Linked DNA regions of Homo sapiens: all the other regions are linked to region 1. Evidence: promoter capture Hi-C in 16 types of primary human blood cells and fetal thymus (Javierre and others, 2016). All regions are on one chromosome and are shown on one strand. The core of a region is centred on a gene start or on the middle of the fragment in contact, and the rest is flanking DNA. Distances in the headings are between cores, read along the strand shown. Region 1 holds the start of ARSK (arylsulfatase family member K). Region 2 holds the start of ST8SIA4 (ST8 alpha-N-acetyl-neuraminide alpha-2,8-sialyltransferase 4). Region 3 holds the start of CETN3 (centrin 3).

Evidence for each region. Contacts are between HindIII fragments. The CHiCAGO score rates a contact against its expected background, and 5 or more counts as called.
Region 2: a fragment that was not itself captured here is called in contact with the fragment with the promoter of ARSK in region 1 in 6 of 17 cell types (total CD4 T cells, total B cells, activated CD4 T cells and 3 more); the score reaches 11.7 in total CD4 T cells.
Region 3: a contact is called between the fragment with the promoter of CETN3 here and the fragment with the promoter of ARSK in region 1, in 1 of 17 cell types (fetal thymus). The highest score is 5.8, in fetal thymus.

Annotation. Positions count from the first base shown.
Region 1 is chr5:95,552,945-95,557,516 of GRCh38, forward strand. It overlaps ARSK (arylsulfatase family member K), which reads left to right and starts at 2,157. Exons shown (of 8, transcript NM_198150.3): 1 at 2,157-2,460. The coding sequence starts at 2,335. It overlaps SKIC3 (SKI3 subunit of superkiller complex), which reads right to left and starts at 2,033. Exons shown (of 43, transcript NM_014639.4): 1 at 1,992-2,033. The HindIII fragment of the contact is 6,579 bases long and covers 1-2,232 here.
Region 2 is chr5:100,900,288-100,904,859 of GRCh38, forward strand. ST8SIA4 (ST8 alpha-N-acetyl-neuraminide alpha-2,8-sialyltransferase 4) reads right to left here and starts at 2,995. Exons shown (of 5, transcript NM_005668.6): 1 at 2,556-2,995. The coding sequence starts at 2,668. It overlaps LOC107986437 (a long non-coding RNA gene), which reads left to right and starts at 3,121. Exons shown (of 2, transcript XR_001742825.3): 1 at 3,121-4,572. RefSeq lists enhancers at 118-337, 444-945, 2,083-2,652, 3,138-3,377, 4,158-4,397. The HindIII fragment of the contact is 412 bases long and covers 2,130-2,541 here.
Region 3 is chr5:90,407,488-90,412,059 of GRCh38, forward strand. CETN3 (centrin 3) reads right to left here and starts at 2,269. Exons shown (of 5, transcript NM_004365.4): 1 at 2,158-2,269; 2 at 212-347. The coding sequence starts at 2,174. It overlaps LOC731157 (a long non-coding RNA gene), which reads left to right and starts at 2,513. Exons shown (of 2, transcript NR_105024.1): 1 at 2,513-2,817; 2 at 3,013-3,182. RefSeq lists an enhancer at 2,039-2,238. The HindIII fragment of the contact is 6,726 bases long and covers 1-2,359 here.

The sequences.
Region 1 (4,572 bases), core at 907-3,406:
AATGAATGGTTAAAAATAGAGGAAGATTAACTTCAACTTAAAATAGGAACTTTTAATGAGACCTATATAAATGTGGAATGAGGTACTCAATGGAAGTGTTTCCCATCACTGGAGATGAAAAAGCACAGGCTGGACAATCCACTCAGCAGGAATGTTTTAGGATAAACTGAATGTCAGATGGGAAGTAGGACTAGAAGCCTCTTAGATTCTTCCAGCACAACGTCTCTAAGGCTCTAAAATATCTGTCTTGCTCCAAATCACTGCAGCACCTGCTCCTATTGACACTGCCAAGGGGAGAAAGAAGAAAAAGATGTATTCTTGTAAGCCTGTCATCAGAGTACATGTCCTGTGGAAACAAGGCTGTAGAGAGTAAGCACAGTTTATGGAATCAGACACAAAATTAAATATAACTTTTATGAATTTAAATGTCAGTCAATATTGTCACTATGGTAGAAAATACGTTCTACATTCCAAATTAACTCAAAACAAATTTGTTTTTATGAGAGAGCCCACTTGTATTACCTTCCGTGCTGTATTATTATTTCATGTATGCTTGGTTTTGCTTCCCTGAAATCTAAACTCATGTAAACTGAGACTATTGTTTAGGGGTTTTTTTGTTTTTGTTTTTTTTTTGAGATGGAGTTTTGCTCTTGTTGCCCAGGCGGAGTGCAAAGGTGCGATCTCAGCTCACTGCAACCTCCACCTCCTGGGTTCAAGTGATTCTCCTGCCTCAGCCTCCCTAGTAGCTGGGATTACAGGCGCCCGCCACCACGCCCAGTATTTTGCGTATTTTTCGTAGAGACGGGGTTTCACCATGCTGGCCAGGCTGGTCTCGAACCCCTAACCTTCGGTGATCCGCCCGTCTCGGCTTCCCAAAGTGCTGGGATTACAGGCGTGAGCCACCGCGCCCAACACTGTTTACGTTTTTGCATGCTCCCGCAGATCTTTATCATGCTGCTTGAGTAACAATTCTGCTACACTAACAGATAAACTAACTGCAGACAGAGCATTTAGTGAGTTACGGCACAGACTCTTCAATTTTCAGTCGTGCTCTGACTGGCTCCCTGTGTAAACTCAGGCCAGTCATTTAACCTCTCTAAGCCTGTTTTCCTATCTGCAATATGGTGAAAGTGAGGATTATAGAAAATATTCCATATAAAAGTACGTGGCACGCAGCAGATGCTCAGTAAATGCTTAGTATAACGCTCAGCACCTAAGTGCCATGTGAGTATTAAATAAACAAATCTGTTCCTTACTACAATTATCTTAGGCAAAAAAAAACCTGCCAGATATTAGTATTCAGTTGACTTAAGTAAGTAGTATAACTCCTCTTTTAACTGTCAGAATATTAAAACTACTAGTGTGATGTGCAAATTATATACCCGAAACTAGATACAGAAATTGGAATTTGGCTTTGGGACAGAAATCTGCTTCTTCCAGAACTCTCCAAAGGAATTCAACAGTCAAAAGAGACCGGTTTTTATTCTGCAGCAAAACAATGATATTCTGAACCTACGTCAACTAACTGAACATGTCACACAGCCCATTTCCCCCTCCAGTTTCGCTTATCTCCTTTGCTCTCTGAAGGCAAGGAACAGCTATGCTTTCCCCTGCCTACAGCCTGAAACTTCTTACTAGGCCCCGCTCCTCGCCCCATGGGAGCACAGTAAATCCTGACTGCACGGGGTAAGAGAAGCAATAAGATGAGACAGGCTAGAGATTTCCCTGGGAAGGTATTCGGGGGGGTCTAAGGCATTCACGGCGCACCTGAGGCGGTCCACCCAGAGGCCCCACAAGGCACCGCCCTATTCAACTTAAGTGACAGCCGCGCCGCCACCTCATCGCCGCCCAGTTCACGCTCTCGCCGAACACTCAGCCACGCTTGCGCGGCCCAAAATGAACAGCCCCGGCCCCGATCCTTTCTTTCTCTAAGTACCATTTCAATCGCCTTTAGGATCCCTTGTGCAAAACCGACAGAAATCCAAACCCACCTGGAGCAGATGCTCCTCTTCTACAAACGCCGAGGCTGCAATGAGAGCGCATGCGCCTTTCCCAGGACTCATTCACGTGACTGGAAGTGGCTGGGTTCTGATTTGCTCGGTATTTGATTAAAAGGTCTTAACGTGGGTAAAAGCGGGAATTTCTCTGTTGCGCATGTGCGCGCTCTCCGCCTGATAGGAGTTGTAGTTCTGCGGGTGAAGCTCGGCGTTACTATCAAGCAACCAAACTGCAAGCTTTGGGAGTTGTTCGCTGTCCCTGCCCTGCTCTGCTAGGGAGAGAACGCCAGAGGGAGGCGGCTGGCCCGGCGGCAGGCTCTCAGAACCGCTACCGGCGATGCTACTGCTGTGGGTGTCGGTGGTCGCAGCCTTGGCGCTGGCGGTACTGGCCCCCGGAGCAGGGGAGCAGAGGCGGAGAGCAGCCAAAGCGCCCAATGTGGTGCTGGTCGTGAGCGACTCCTTCGTAAGTACCGCGAGGCAGGGGAGGGGCGCCCCGCTGGGGATCGGCGACCTCACCGCCGCCGCCTGTGCTGCAGGCTTTGGGGAGCAGAACCTGAGACATTTTCAAACACCTTTTACCCCGATGCAAAGAAAGAAATACATTTTATGTGAGGCCCCGTGTACTCACACGTACACCACATACCTATGCAAACATGTAAAACAATAGTGAAACACTGAAAACATCTTTGCAGATCTTTTTTTTTTAATACTGACCTCGATTCGCTAAATTATTTTACCACGACTAATGAACTTTCAGTCCATACCCCCGTTTGGTTTAATTGTGTGGTAAAATAACATTCTGCATCTCCATAAAAGCGTGTTAGCTTTCCAAAAGTCATTTTCCAGTTCACCTCAAGTTTGCAGGAATTCATGTTTGGGTGAGAAGTGAAGAAAGTTTATTTTTATTACCCAGGTCTGTGATAATCCTGTTAGTGCTGATTCAAATGGAATCGTTGGTATAACTTGATTCACTCCCCCGTATTCCAGAGAAATTGTGTGTATGTGTGTGTGTTGGTAATGTGGCTGAATCCCAAACTTAAACAGTTTTTGAAACTTTCCCAAGCCAAAGGTGCTACTGTCAACCTTACGCGATGCTTTTAGGATGATCCATGTTTTAAAAAGTGCTGCTTAGACAATTGTTTGGTTATTAATTGTAATATTAGTTTATTATCACTCGGTGTTACTGTGGTCACACAGATGTTGGTGTTAAGCATATCTGGCACTAAAGAGTGTTTGTAATCATATGTTGTATTTCCTTTCTCGTAGATTCCTGATGATTAAAATTACATAGTCTGGATGTGCCCATGGGATTTTTTGAAAATATTACTTAAAGTTATCTTTGTGATTTAAACTTAGAGAATGGGCAGTACTGGAAATTGACTAGATGGCATTTTATTACAGAGTGCTCTTGTAATCAAAGGCAAATGAAGGAAGCAGGATTGTGCAGAGGAGAAGCTGAATTTTGTTGCCATCTTATGAATGACAGTTCTCAAACTAGTATGGTGCTTCAGAGCTGCTTTCCAATAGGAGTGAGGAGAACAGACCTTTCCACCTGCATGTTGGATGGCCACTGGTTGTGGGCTGCTCCTAGAATGGGGCATGGTGTTGGGCAAAGCAGCTGTCTTCAGCAGAGGCAATTGTTCATTCCTAAAAGGGAATCCGAATGTGGATCACAACATCCCAGAAACTTCCAAAGATGACTGAGATATATAGGTTTGTTATTTTTTTTAGTGTAGTATGAATGCATAGATTTTTCTATATTTGTGCTTAAATTTTTTGCATTCACGGCCGGGCGCGGTGGCTCACGCCTGTAATCCCAGCACTTTGGGAGGCCGAGGTGGGCGGATCACGAGGTCAAGAGATCAAGACCATCCTGGCTAACACAGTGAAACCCCGTCTCTACTAAAAATACAAAAAAATTAGCCGGGCGTGGTTTCGGGCGCCTGTAGTCCCAGCTACTCGGGAGGCTGAAGCAGGAGAATGGCGTGAACCTGGGAGGCGGAGCTTGCAGTGACCTGATATCGCACCACTGCACTCCAGCCTGGGCGACGGAGCGAGAGTCCGTCTCGAAAAAAAAATAAAAATAAAAATAAAAAAATTTTTAAAAAATAAAAAATAAAAAAAATTTTTGCATTCACATACTTGTTAATATTCAAACTGTCCTATCTTTGGCCAGTGGAAGCCCCTTCAGGTGGTTCTGAGTCCTTTTGACCCATCCCCATTAGTATTTGACAGCTTGCTTTAACAGAGTTCCATGTCCACAATACATATTTCCTGTCCCATCTTGTATTTAGAGACCACAGTCTGAGTGTTAGGGTGTTCATTGCATCTAGACCTTTCCAGTGGACAAATCTAGAAAGTATATAATATTTTAGAATGAGAAAAATAAATTGTGAGATCATACTGATACTTTCCATTCAAATTTAAGATTACAAGTTTATTCTTTGATTTTTATACTTATATCTTTTTTGTTTTATGCCAAATATTTTGGTCTAAATGCATTAATGCAATTACTTATTTGCTTTATCCAAACATATAATATGTATATATCAATGTGTTTGAAAATAAGACTGTA
Region 2 (4,572 bases), core at 1,086-3,585, 5.3 Mb after region 1:
CCAAAGGCCAGAGACTGCCTTGGTTACCTCACTTGAATACTGGACCGGGATCTGGAGCCGAACCTCCATTCCAGTTTACTCAAAACTCAAAACTGGCCTCTCCACGTGGCTTGGGTAGAAAGACAGTCAATGAGATGATTTGATGGTTTTATGAGTCAACTCCTCCACCAGAAGCGCTGTTTGGGAGTTGAAACGAAATAATGAGCTCGGGTCACAAGCTTTTCCACGAACCTTTCATCCTGGAGAAAAAGGAAAGTGCTCAGGGAGCCTAGCTGCCCTCGCATTGTTCCTGGCAGCTCCAACTCCTTGCACAGTCTTGGTCTCTCAGGAGACCAAGGCAGTCAGGACGCTACAGGGCACGGGTGTAAGCGCGACGTTCGCGGCCAGCCCTCTGCCTTGCCCCACTGTAATTGCGGGTTTTGATTAAGAAGGAGGAGCCAGTTGCCGACTGAGCTTTGAAAGTGACTTTGGGTGGGGGGTGGGGGTGGGGTGGGGGTGGAAGGAGGGGAGGGACCAAAAGAGCCTGAGTCCTGCAATAAAGGTTTCCCCCTATCTTCTCACTCATTCTTTCCCCCTCGCCGCCGGCGCTCTGGCAGCAGGGGATAACCCCGGTGCGCGCCTCTCTTCCTGTTTGGTTTACTCAAGCGCCTGCCCCAACGCCTTCTCAGTCAAGCTGGGAGGAAACTGCTTCAGCTTGAAAAGGATGCGGGCAAAAGCCCAGCCCGACTAGCTCAACCGCCGCGCCAGTGCCCGCCTCCTCTTCCTTAACGCCTAGGGCTGCGCCCACCAGCCGGCAACGTCCAGGAAAGGGCCACAGGAGAAATGACACCCGTGCAATGCGGAGTGTCCCGGCTCCGCTTCCCCGCAGGGACTCGAGGTGCGCTCCTTTTCCTGGCCACGGTTTAGGGAGGCTCGGAGATGGACACCTCGGCAGTATCTGGCGACCCTCTTCTCACTCGCTCCGCCCACTCCTGCTCTCCAGGGTCCCAGCCAAGGGCCCGAACCCTCGGAGTCCTAGTGAGCCTTGGCCGCTTTGTCTGGGATCAGGCTTATCCTCCTAGCCCACGGCCCGGGAGGGAACAAAGAGCCTCGACCCTCAAGCTCTAGCCTCTGCCTCTCATCGGAGCCCCATGCGCCCATTCATCACCTTTCTAAAGACCCCTTTGTCTGCCTGGCAAGCACAGGTCTGCAAGGGATGCCCACGCCCCTGCCCAAAGTCCTGCTTTTCTAACAACTGAGCTAGATTGGATTTTCAAGCCACCCAGTCTTGTGTAAACGACCTCATACCGGTCTTTTTTACCCCCTCAGAATAGACCATGTATAGATTCGTTGATGCATGACGACCATTCCAGCCCATTCCTTGCTAGCTTTTTCATTCTCTTCCAGTCCGCTTTGACTGTGCTACTGTTTTCCTGGTTTTCTACAGAATAGCAAGTCCTTCTGTAAGGATCAACCTGCATCTTGCTCGCTTAAATAAATGCTTATTACCTAGGGAGCAGGAATATTAAGAAATGGAGTGCAGGAAGTTTAAGAGCATGTGTGTGTGTTAGCAGTCCCATCTCTCTCTCTCTCACACACACATACACACACACGCAAGGGCTGTTTTCTTTGTTTTAATCAATGTCAGAGAAAAATATAAACTGGGCAGGCATCTCTGCTGGTGTGTAGTTTCTGATAGAGGACGCCTCCAAACCGGAACAGGGAGGATTTCCGAAACAGGACTTTGAATAGAGTTGACAATCAGGTTCACATCCTCAGAAAAAGCCTTCCAAGCTATGTCAGCAACACAAAGTTGCACCACCTCCTGGGTAAACTTCAAAGACACAGAGGCCAGCGGGTGGAAGGAAGTGTGATATTTAGAGAACTTAGTGGGGCGGGGGAGAGTCTGAACTCATCTAGACAAACTAAAAAAAATAGCAGAAATATAGTCTGTGTGAAGCTACAGTACCCAGTTTCTTTCTAAAACTGTAACCATGACGCCCATGCGTTTTAGCCGTAGAAGAACAAATAAGGAAGTATCCTTAGTGGTACTGGAGTTTCTAATTCAAATTATAACACATTAATCTATCCAACGTCAAATAGAAAAAAAAAAAGTAGAGAAACAGAGTATACCTATTTCCTGCTTTCTAAGCTTTAACTTCAGCCCTTCGAGAAACCATCTATCTCCAGTATCTCCTTAGGTGATAGGACATTGAAAACAGGCAACCGTTTGGTGAATAAAGACATTTCTCTTGAGTTCTGCCCACAGATTAAAAGGACAAGGACACACGTTCTTTGTTGACACTTCTGCAGTGACTTCTCCTTTGGCGAGAGAGCACCCAGGGCCAACACAACTGTCACCACAACCACACAGAGCAAGTTGAACTCATACTGGGAACAGCTTAGAGAAGCACGCACATCTCAACAACAGCCTTTGTTATTTAATTCATGACACTAACCACGCGCAAGCTCAAACAAACACACATGCTATCCTAACCATCACTCTACCCTCTATATTCACATTTCATTTATGGCTTGACTTTTTGTCATATCCTGAAATGAAGCTTTGCATTTACCCGATGAGTTGCGTCTCCTGGTGCTCCTCAGTTCTTGCTATTTCTTTTGTCTTATAAAAGATCAGGAGCAGACTTATTGTGCAGATCGTCCACCTCTTCCTAATGGAGCGCATCTTGGGTGCCCGAGAAAGTCCTGGTTGCCCCAGCTCCCGCACCTTCTCTTGATATAAAGGCTCCGTTTTGGGGAGATAGTCGCGGGGGTGAAATCTGTAAAATGCGAGGAGAGCTTGGAGCCGGGATCCCGGGATCAGATCACTGGGGTCTTCTGTGGCCGAGCTCCCTCTGGTCCTCGAACGCTGCCCAGCGACCTCTCGCCCTGTTTGCGCCAGCTCTGCCAGGGTCGCTCCGCGCCGCCTCCCTGGGGCTCAGGTTTCTTTTCAGATGAGACACCTTGTGCATTGGAGGTGGCGGCAGCTTCTGCAGCTGGGTTCGGGGGCGTCACTGGCCCTTCCCTCTTGCTAGGAGATAAACGCTGCGCAAAGCCAATCACCAGGCTGAGGGGGCGGAGGCTGCTTGGAGAGTAACGTCCCCGGCTCTGCCTGCTCTGTGCCGGGAGAGGAAGCTCACAGTGCTACGCGCCTGCGAGCTCGCGCACATACACATATACATACATACACACATACATACATATGCACACACACGTACACGCAGAATCACACACACTCTCCTGGGACATCAAAGCATCAGCTCTCTGGACCTGGGAGCTCCAAGATAGTCTATCCGCATCTAGGTGAGAGGGCACCTCGCCTGGGGACAGATTACAAAAGCGTCCCGCCAGAGGAATGCTTCAGGTAGAGCTAGGGGTGGATTGCAAGAAGAGTACCTTCTTTCAATCGCTTTTGCTAAACACACACCCTCACACGCAAAAACACGCCCTCCAAGGTGGAGTGAAACGGGGTGCGGGGGTGGGGACGGCGGTGGAAGGAAGAAGACTTTTATTACTCAATCTGGAAAGTGCAAATACACACATGAACCTGTTAGCCGATGGGCCCACTCTGCATGGGTGGTGGACGACGACCCTGGCTCAGGATTCTGCAGGAAACAAGTGATGATAGAGGTGTCATTAGGAACTTTATGGATATTTATGCGCCTCCCTTTCATTGCCATTTGGAAACTCCTCACGCAGAAGTCAAGGAAACTCCAATCCCACTTAAACTTCATTGCGGAGAAACAGAGTTCTGAAAAAAAAGCAGCTACCATGGACCTCTCTTTTAAACGCAAGTACACCCACACACATTCGGATACCAAGGAAGGAAGGAAAGAAAGAAAGGAAAGAAAAGGGAGGGGAGGAAGGAAGAGCAAAGTCCTCTCTAAAAGTCTCAATTATATATATAGCCTCTGATTGTCACCTCTCCTCCGTCCCACCATTTTTCGTACTTGTATTGGGTGGCAGGGACACTTTTCAAGAGTTCTGTGTTCGATTGTTCACTCTGAGTACCTCTCCACCATCCTCCAGTCGTTGCCCTCATTGGGAGAGATGCTTGCTACTCTGCTAGTACCACGCCTTGGTTCCGGTCTTTACTGTTGGCTGGTAGGTCGGGAGGCACCTCTAGCATGAGACAGTGTCTGGAAGCCAGGATTTCCCTCATCTATATGCGCCGGTCCCCAGCTCCCTGGTCGCCAGGGTTTCTCTCCAGTTGAATTCCGTGTTCCTTCAGGTTGAACAGTAGCTTCAGCGGTTTTTCACGCTCAGAAATGATGAGGCCCAATTCCAATCTTCCCTCCCGCCGGAAGTAAGAAGGGGAATTCTGAGTTGCTTGTCGCCTGACAGCTTAAAATAGCAACGAAAACAGCCAGCATCTTTGCTTAAAAACCCAAGGTTCCCGCCAGTGTTTACCATACTTCCTCTAGAGTTTAAGAAGTTAAGAACTTCCGAGATCTTGAATTTCCTCTTTGCAGCACAGCGAACGGGGTCGGGTATAAAAATGCTCCAAGGAGCAAGTAATTACGAACGTTTATTGACACTACAAGTGGCCCACAGGGAGCCTTTCGAGTTTATTGATGTCTAGGCAAATCC
Region 3 (4,572 bases), core at 1,019-3,518, 5.1 Mb before region 1:
ATTCGTTTTCTCATGTGAAAAAGATTTTCTAAAAACTATGTTAGGAGTTCTCTTCAGTTTTATTACAGCATCTAACTATGAATGCTTAAAATGCCTTCATAGTTCCAAAACCAATTTAGTTAAAATAATTATTTAGAAATGTAATGTAAAGCAACTGTAAAAATGCAAATCATTTTAACACAGAAACAAATATTTTAAAGTATACCATTACCTTTAATTCATGATAATCTATTGCTTCATCTTTGTCTGTATCAAATAGTTCAAAAGCATCTTTAATTTCTTGTTTCTGTTCCTCAGACAGTTCTCTTCTTTTTTTCCTCTTTGTTTTGTCCACTACAAGCTCACTTCTATGAAATGGAAAGAAAAAGCCCTTAGTCCACTTTAATTCTCTTTACTAACAGAAATTAGCCAATAATTACCTTCTAAATTTCAAAAAAGAAAGTACTTTGGAGAAAGATAGGGAAACTTTCCCTTTATGAGTCAATGACCTGTTTATTCCATAGTCTAAATTGCTATAAATCTGAACTTCGCAAAACTAAAGAGTGTTACAGATTATTAAAAGAAATGAGGACCAAACTTTTCTTTTTCCCAGCTTTTTATTTATTCCCACTAATGTTACTGTGGAAGAAACAAGAACTGTGAATAAGCAACACTACTTTTATGTCTGAAACTCCAACCAACTCCAACCAAAAAAACAAAAACACGTTATCCTACAAGAATGTTAAAGAATTTAAAAAAAATCTCCAAATGAAACCAAAATTCATAACTGACAATCACTATATATCGGTTTACTGTTGATAGTTCTGATAATTATGTTCATAAAATTACAAAAAAAAAGTGAATTAACTTATACAGTATTTTAGCACTGTTGGTTCAAAATGTTTTTAGATTACACGTTTTTAACAGTTTGGCAATTTATGTGTCATTTCCTCCATTGATATTAACAAACCATCGAAAATATTAATGAGTCTAAACATATGACAAATATTAGATGCCAATATACAATGTTTGTGCTTCATTCTATATAAAAATGTGATGAGTCTTGTCTCATTTAACATGTAAACCGGAGGTTAACTTCTCATAAACTCTGGAAACGCTTAAAGAAAAAAAGCAAAAATTATTTTAAAGCCAGAAATGTTTTCCTTAAGAGCTGCCCATCTAAATGTGCTCCAAATTTTCAAATGGAGCCGCAACACTGGAATAACGAGTTTTGAAACACAATCCGGTAACACATTAACATGTCAAACCAGTTGACTGTACTTAAAACACCTATCTAGTTGCATTTGAAAGTCGTTTTGGTCTCTGAAAGCTCCAAAAAAAAAAAAAAAAAGCTAGGAAGTGACTAGTAGGTGCAGTATAACAAAGCTGAGGAAGATCTTCCTTTCATGAGACCTGACTTGACACAAACTTGGGTATTCCTGGGGTCAGTCTTTTCCTTCCTGAGACTTTTGGAGGCCAAGTCCAGAACCGACCCACCCCTGACCCCATCCAAGGGTACCATGATTATCCCTTAGCAGAACATGGAATATTTTCGGAGTGTCGTAAGTGTATGGATAGTTTTACGGTACAACGTCTACATAGTGGGAGAGGGCAACAGAGGGTTAGAGGTTAGAACTGAAAGGTAAAAAAATGCAAGAAATTTAGGAAATCCAAGAGACAGACTGCCAATTAAAGTCACTAAAATGGGTCTCCAATTACACCGTAAAGCAGGGCCCTGGGAGAAGAGGAAAGAGTTTTTGTTATTTCCAAAATTTATAGGTGGGTGATTGCATTAGCAGCGGAGCAGCCGAGGTGGGGCCCTGACCAGGCACACGGATGAATGAAGGGATGTCCGCGACCTGATCTGAGAAACAAGAGTAGAAGCCTCGCGATATTTCATTCCCACCTCGCTCGCAACTAAGCCCAACCTTCTGGCAGTCCAAAGCCCTACGCGCTGACAGAAATAACCTCCTTAGCAGAAATGCACTGGTCTCGTTCCCTGCAGGGCATCAGAGCCCAGAGGGTGAGTGATCCGGGCAGGCTGCCCTAGGCTCCTTTCCCGCGTCCCAAACTACATCCCCTGCCTCGCCTCGGCCCCAAACGTCCTCCCTTCCACACACACCCTCCCTGGGCCCCGCTCCGGGGTGTGGAGAGCACTGCCGCCTCCTTATTACCGACCTCAGAGCTAAACTCATTATCTCTTCGCACAGAGACGTTCCTCTCAAGAACGATTTTAACCCCCTACCCAAGGCAGCAAGACGCCCACAGCCGTTCAACAGACACGAACGACCTCAGCGGCCTCAGGGACCTCCCACAACATAGACACTTTTGAGCTGGATTGGTTGAAATGTCGCTATGGTTCTGCCTATTAGGGGGCGGAAGCTTTACCAGTTCTATTTTCATTGGGTAGGTTTTACGTCAATCAAGGAAAAAAAAATTTTTTTTCTGTGCCCCGCCCACCTCCTAACGCCCCCCCGCCCCCCCAATCTAGGGCCGCTCTCGCCCTTCGGATTGGCTCGATGCGTTTTTCCCCGAATCCTTTGCGGGTCCGGCCTCCGATCCCTGTGTGGCTGTTTGGCGGGTGGGCGCTGTGTTCCTCTCTCGTAAAGCCGTGCGGTCTGTGGGCCGCCATTCAGAAACTGGATGGACAGCTTCGGCGGTGGGAAGGGAAGGGACATGCTGCAGGCCACCCTCCGGCTAGAAGGAGGGAGTACTTGAGGAACAAGGTCTGCGAAAATTGGCTGTGCTCTGTTCTAAAACTTGGAATGGCCTCAGTACCTGGGGAATGTGTTTAAAATGCAGACTTAAATGTCCGTTTCTCCATTCTAATTTCAGTAGGTATGAATCTGCGTTTTTACTCCTCACAAGCCTTCCAAGTGATTCTGAGGCAGGTGCTGTGGCTGTACTTGGATTATCACAGGGTTAGATTATCAGGCTATTTATGATTTAGCTGTATCTAAACCACCTTTCCCTCTCTTTCCTCCTTTGAACTGTTTGAAACGGATTTGTTCCCTTCTGTCTCTTATTTTTCAGTGCTGTAAGCTGTTAACACACATGAGACTGTCTTCACTACCAAACCAAGTCTCCTAAAGCTCACTTGAATGTCTGCTTATTCGTGTCTCTTACTAGGTTCAATTTCTTGGAGGCCGTGATTATATCTATTTAACGCTTTTCCTTGTACCTAATAAAATGTCTGGTGCGTAGGTGCTCGGTAAATTGAGTGGAATCTTTTGAAAATCCACAAAATACTGAGCTAAACAGCAAATCTCATAAACGTGAATAAAATAGCCTGAGGATGGGAGTTGAAGGCGGAGAATATATAAACATTATATGTTTAAGGGATGTATATAAAATTTTAGAGAAGGGAGAGAACACAAGATATGCTTCTTAAAGGAGGTGACATAAACGTTAGACCTAGAAGGATGGGCTAAATTTGCACAAGGAAAGATAGTATGATAGAATAAGCTAAAAATTAGCTAAGGGATAGCACCCCTAAAAAACAAAAGTGGAACTTTTATTTTGTTCGTATTTTAAATTTTAAAGTACCTTTATAAATCACCTTTGAGTCTAAAAGGAAAGAGAAATTGTAGTTACTAGAACATAATGATATTGAAAAAAACTATATGTTAAAATTTTAAGATACAGACCAAGTTATAGGAGAACATTATTTTAAATAAGAAAGAATAAAAATAGGCCAAGCATTTATTTGAAGATGTTAGAAACGAAGAACAAATTGTATAATTGAAATTAGGAAGAGGAAATTAGTAAAGATAAAGTTTGAGAACAGTGTTTTAAAAGGAAATTGGTAAAATTGATAAAGTACTCATAATCTAGTATAAAGCTGGTTTTTGGCAATACCAGTGAAATTCAAAGACTTATAGGAAGTGTAACAAGAAAAGGAATAGTGCCACTAGTAAGGTTGGTAATTTAATAAAAGGGAGGTTTAAAAATTATTAAAATATTTTATACAATTTTATACCGCCAATAAATATTAATAGAAAATGAAATAGTCACTTTTCAAGGAAAACATAACTCAAAAAAGGTGGAAAACTGAATTAAGTCAATAACTACAGACAGGACTGGAACAAAGATGCCAAAGTTCTGTACTCACAAATAAAAAGCCTCCAGCCCACTCAGATTTATGATTAAAAATCATAAGAGCTAAATCTTGTGCTTTAAACTCAAGTCATAGAAAATGATGGAGAGCTTCTTAGCTTAATTTTTGAAGCTGCCATAATCTTTCACATCCTAAAAGAACATTTAAAGTCACTCAGTGTAAGCTCAGTGATGATGAAGGCTATGCATGTTTCTCACCATTGTATCCCCAGTGCCTGACTCATGTTTGATGTTCATTTGTGAACTTAAGTGCAAAATTCCTAGATGTTAGCAAAGTCAGTTTGATACTGTCTTAAAGGAACATTTCTCTATAACTAAATTGAGTTTTTTTTTGTTAAGTGCAAAGATAATTCAAAATATAAATCTGTGTTAAATAATTATAATGTTAGGTTAAGGAAATCATCTCAGTGTCAAAAAGGCACTGAATAATAGGTAACACCTTTTCTATTAGGATATAAAGTGGGTTTAGAAAATACT